Linked DNA regions of Homo sapiens: region 1 is linked to region 2. The links are contacts of gene promoters, found by promoter capture Hi-C in human tissues and cell types (Jung and others, 2019). All regions are on one chromosome and are shown on one strand. Each heading gives the region's core, a stretch centred on a gene start or on the middle of the fragment in contact. The rest is flanking DNA. Distances are from core to core; before and after follow the strand shown. Region 1 overlaps PIP4K2A (phosphatidylinositol-5-phosphate 4-kinase type 2 alpha). Region 2 holds the start of SPAG6 (sperm associated antigen 6).

Region 1 (2,700 bases), core at 128-2,627, 360 kb after region 2:
AATTTGCAGCAAGTTTTTCCCCACTCTCTAACACACTGCACAACCCGCTCAGCAAAATGCTCTAAAATGCTCTATGCTTGATTATAACAAAAGTCAACTTTCTATGTTTATGAAAATTGAATATGGGAGGCCTCATGGTATACCACCTGAGAACTAATGGCCTACGGTTTAGAATCCCAGCCCCACTCATTCATTCAACAATATGTACTGAGCACCTACTATCTAAACACACTGTTCTAGATGCAGGGATACACCTAGTAAATAGGAAAAAGTCTCAGTTGCTATGAAACTTATTGTTCTAGTTGAGGGAGATAAGCAATAAAAATGTACACAACTCAGTTTCAAACAGTGTTAAGTGTCACAGAGAAAATAACAGTATGATAGTGGAGGGGCTCCCTTAGCTTAGGAGGTCAGAGAGGCCATCTGAGAAGGCAACCCCTTAGCTAAGAGACTAAAATAACTAATAGGAGCCAACCATCCAAAGATCTGAGGGCAGGCTGGGCATGGTGGTTCATGCCTCTAATCCCAGCACCTAGGGAGGCTGAGGCAGGAGGATTACTTGAGGCCAAGAGTTGAAGACCAGCCTGGGCAACACAGCGAGACCCCCCATCTCTTACAAAAATTATAAAAATTATCCAGGCATGGTGGTGCACACCTGTAGTCCCAGCTACATAGGAGGCTGAGGCAGGAGGATTGCTTGAGCCCAGGACTTCAAGGCTGCAGTGAGCTATGACCATGCCACTGCACTCCAGCCCAGGTAACAGAGCGAGACCTTGTCTCAAATAAAAAAATAAATAAATAAAAGAGGGAAAAACATTCCCGACGAAGAGAAAAATAAAGACTGAAGAACTGTGGCTGCTCTGAGCTTGCCTTTAGGAACAGAAAAAGCGCAGGGCAGCTGGAACATAGGAATCATGAAGAGGGTGTTATGGGATGAGGGCAAGGAGGAAAGTGGGGCCCAGGCCAGTAAGATCCTGCAGGTCAGAAAAGGTTTGGATTTTATTCTAAATGCAATGTAAAGCCTTTGGAAGGTTTAACTGAGGACATGACATGAAATCATCTACAGTTTAGCAAGATTCCTCTGCCACTGCTGCAGACAAGGTGGACTGAAACAGGGCAAAACTGAATGCCGGGAGACCAAACAGGAGGCTACCACAGTGTTCCTGAGAAAGAAGATTCAAATAGAAAGCATGTGGATTCGGGACTCAAAAATTGGATGTGGAGAAGGAGTGGGGAGAAAAAAGCATAATCAAGGTTGCTCCCTACGTTTAAGCTTGAGCACCTGGGTCTATGGTGGTCCATTTTCTGAGACGGGAAGAGGCCAGTTTAAGTTATGACAGGGGACGGGGCAGAGTGCAGGGAGGAAATCAAGAGGCCTGCTTGGGACATCTGAGATGTCTATTAGTTATTCATGTGAAGATACCTGGTAAGAAACTGCATATAGAGCCCAAGAGGAAAGTTAGAGCTGAAGTTAAAAATTTCTCAATCATGACTGTAAAATGGTATAAAAAGCCATGAGACTAAATGAAATCATGTAGGTAAAGTAAATGTAATTGTAGAAGATGATCCTGGACACAGGCCTGGGGCATTCCAACATTTCCAGACTGAGCAAAAGAGGAGCCTGCACCTAAGGAGTGGCTAGTGAAGCAGAAGGAAAACAAGAGACAAAAAAAAAGGAGCCCCCTGCATTTGAAAATGTTAGCACTGCCAGTGATGCTGACTTGAGCAGTTTCCTAGGTGTGCTGGAGGTGAAAGCTAGATTGGGGTAAGTTAAGGAGATCATCGCAGGTAAGTTGACGGTTGCCAGGTACGGTGTCTCTATAGAAATAGGAGACCTCAGCTTTAGACAAGGCTTTTCACTCCTGCTATGAAAAGGAACAGGGCAGGTGTGGTAGCTCACATGTATAATCCCAGCACTTAGGGAGTCTGAAGCAGGACTGCTTGAGACCAGGAGTTTGAGGCAGCAGTGAGCCATGATTGCACCATGCACTCCAGCCCAGGCCAAAAAGCAAGACCTCATCTGAAAAAAAAAAAAAAAAAAAAGGAACAGAAAACACGAGAAGACACTAAAATGAGAGACTAAGGGTGAAGGAGAGCTTCTGCTGTTACTGTAGTTTATTTTGCTTTCAAGATGGGCGGCCCCGGAATGGTGAGCCATGTCAGTGGAAGACACTGCAATGGTGGGAATCGTCTATATCTGCACTGTTCAATCCAGTAACCACTAACCACATGTGGCTAGTGAGCACTTGATATGAGAAACTGAATTTTAAGTTTTATTAGCTGAAATTTAAATTGCCATATATAGCTAGCAGCTACAAAACCAGGCAGGGCAGCCCCTCCAGCATGTCTGTAGACTGACGGACCCAGCTGTCCAAAATTTAGATGGGATGGTGGGAAGAGTGGAAGCTGACGGCTTCTATTTGTTCAATGCTTTCTAAATGAGGTTATATGCTGAGGGAAGGACGGGGTGGGGGAAGTGGGGGACAGGACACTAGGTGAAGTTCAAGGAGAAGTGAAAAGGAAGAAATGACTTCAGAGAGTGGAGAACATATTAAAGGAGGCAGTAACACTTCCGGGTCGAGTGTCATTTGAGATTTGTGGCAAATTTTAAAGTAACCCTGGTCAGAACTGCTGGCTTTTCTCTGGCAAACATCAACCACTTGGCCCTTCAAAGGTGGCCTCAAACTACTCTTTCAACCA
Region 2 (2,700 bases), core at 146-2,645:
AGGACATATTCCCATAGGGAAATATAGATATCACTGTAAAACTTACGACTTTGAATTAAGTAAAAAGATTGTGGCCATCACTGGCTTTTGAGCTGCAGAAGCAGAAGACATGTACCTGCCCTTCGGGGGTATTAGGGACCCGACTAAACACACTTATTCTTCTCTCTGATTGCTGGACCATTCCCCAACTATTTGGAGCTCCACAAAGTATCAGGACTTCATCAAGAGCTCAGTGAAGGGTGAGATCTCAAAGATAAATATAGAGGACTCATTCCAAATATAGAACCAGTTAAGTTTGCATGCTCCCTTCTGTTGAAGAAATATCAAGGGGTTTCCTGTCTTGGCACTACTTAGCAGCAGCTGCGGCTATGTATCCACTTGACATCTGGTGAAATTGTAGTTTTTGATGGAGGAACATTTAAAGTTGACAACTGTCATTGAAACAACTGGTATATAGTTTTCAAAGACAAGCTAGAAACCAGTAATAGACTAAGTACTTCAATTTTGTTAAAAGAAACTGGGTAAAGGGTTCAAGTTATATAAGATAGGGAAGTCTGGTTTTCCAGGTAAAGGTTCTCTCTCTTTTTCTGTTGGAGATGTCATTCATCAACATAACGAAGCCTAAATTTAAAAGACTAAGACAAAATATTTACAAATCACATAAAAGTGAGGAAACAGCAAAATTAGTAGTCATTAGGAGAAAGCCAGGGAAGACAGGACATTCATCACATCCTTTCCTCATCTGCTTTCCTCACTGAGTCTCTGAGTGCTCATTAAATGCTTTCAATACAGTGTAATTAAGTGTGTGAACATGGTTGTCATGCTCCTCCAGGAATCTTGAAACCAGGAATGCCAGGTATATAACAGCGGGTTACAAAAGAAAACACGGATTCCTAAATCAGTGTTTTACTGTCAGTGCAGTGTTAAATGTCAATGCAACACTTAAGTTGCATTGACATTCATGTGTTGATCGGATTGTACAATGTGACGTGTGAGATTTCTCGGGACCGTCGAAGCTCAGACAACTCCAGGGCTGCAATTTACTCGTCTGGCTGCCCTCGAACCAGGCTCCCTTGGCGCGTGGGGCTCTCCCGGCGCTTGGTCCCGACCCGCGCCGCAGTCAGGATACCACGGCAATCTGGGGTCGCTTTGTAAGGAGCTCCGACCTCCGGGCAGTGCAGGGATACTCGACGGCGCGCGATGTCCCGGCGGCTCCGCGAGCCTGGCGCGCTGAGAGCCCCAGCAGTCCGAGTCCTCGAGCTCGGGCGTCTTCGCGCCGCCGCCCCGCTCAGTGCGCCCAGGCACCGCGGCCGTGACGTCACGCCCGGGACTGGCCGTTGCAGCAAGACGGCCGCGTTCCGGTTCCGGTAGGTTGCCCGGGAGACGCGGGTACACAGAGAAGCGGCTCCCGTCGGAGGCCGAGTCGTCGCCACGATCGCCCCCTTGGTGGACTCGCAGGCCGAGCGGCTTCCCCGCAGAGCTCGAGGAGGGCAGACGGCGGCGGGGGCGCCATGAGTCAGAGGCAGGTGCTGCAAGGTAGGGCCGAGGCGGGCAGGTGCCCTAACTAGCTGGCGCCGAGGAGACCCGGGTGCGGTGGGCTCCACCGACTCTCTCTCCCGCAGTGTTCGAGCAATACCAGAAGGCCAGGACCCAGTTCGTGCAGATGGTGGCGGAGCTGGCGACTAGACCCCAAAACATCGAGACGCTGCAGAACGCGGGTGAGCCCGGAGCCCGAACCCCCGTCGCCCCCCGCGCACTGAGTCCCCGACGCCTCCGCCCCGCTGCCCTGCCCGTGGAGCTCTTGGGGAGCCGCAGTGTGGGGACCGGAGTTCGCAAAAGCATCCATTCTTTTCAGCGGGTCTTTGGGGGTCAGGCCGAGAGGGTGAAGCTTCCAGATGGTTGTGGGAGGTGCGCGTTGTCCCTGTTTCCATCTTCATTGCACACAGGCAAGTGTCAGGTTGAAAGTCGAGGCCCTAGGAATTGCCTGGAGTCATTTTACGTGAATGGGACTCTACCCTAATGAGACCCATTTTATCCAAGTGCCATTTTGCATGCCACCCTGCCTTTGATCACCTTCGACTTCCTCACAGCAAAGCAATTCCAGTGGTTTAGACGTGATTTCTCGTCTTGCTTTAGTGAAAGGGGAATGATATGCTTGAATCTTTTCCAAGAAATTCCAAGTAGGTAGAGACCAGACTTTGCGAAATCCTTATGGCGCGTTCCTTCTACTCCTCAGTCCGGACTCTTGCAGATGTGAGAGGGGGAGAGAGGGGGAGAGGGAGGGAGAGAGATCTTCTTATCTCATAACATAAACTGATAAGAGAAAATGGTTCTTCTTCTTCTTCTTCTTCTTCTTCTTCTTCTTCTTCTTCTTCTTCTTCTTCTTCTTCTTCTTCTTTCTTCTTCTTCTTCCTCTTCTTCTTCTTCTTTTCTTCTTTCTTCTTTCTTCTTCTTTTTTTTTGGATGATTCTACCACCATCTGAACTGTAAGGTAGCATTTTATCACTACTGTGTCATGAGAAATCTTCAGTTTATAGGATGTGATCTTTAAAACTAACACATAATTTAAACAATTAACATGTTGACAGCAAGAATACTTAAGTGTAATGATTACTCTGGGTTTCTTTGAGGGGAATTACTACTGCACCTATGTGATACTTCGTTTTGTCACTAGGATTTTTGGCATTTATTCCTTGTGTG

Evidence for each region. The method cuts DNA at HindIII sites, captures the fragments that hold promoters and counts their contacts. A contact is called where the count stands out against the background at its distance.
Region 1: a contact is called between a fragment that was not itself captured here and the fragment with the promoter of SPAG6 in region 2, in 1 of the 25 tissues and cell types used here (dorsolateral prefrontal cortex).

The regions. Positions count from the first base shown.
Region 1 is chr10:22,702,629-22,705,328 of GRCh38, forward strand. All of the region lies in intron 1 of PIP4K2A (phosphatidylinositol-5-phosphate 4-kinase type 2 alpha), which reads right to left. Among named protein-coding and RNA genes, the nearest start is that of PIP4K2A, 11 kb to the right of the region's middle. RefSeq lists an enhancer at 1,748-1,807. The HindIII fragment of the contact is 4,107 bases long and covers 1-2,700 here.
Region 2 is chr10:22,344,101-22,346,800 of GRCh38, forward strand. SPAG6 (sperm associated antigen 6) reads left to right here and starts at 1,396. Exons shown (of 11, transcript NM_012443.4): 1 at 1,396-1,536; 2 at 1,623-1,718. The coding sequence starts at 1,512. RefSeq lists enhancers at 1,245-1,464, 1,425-2,241. The HindIII fragment of the contact is 4,842 bases long and covers 1-2,700 here.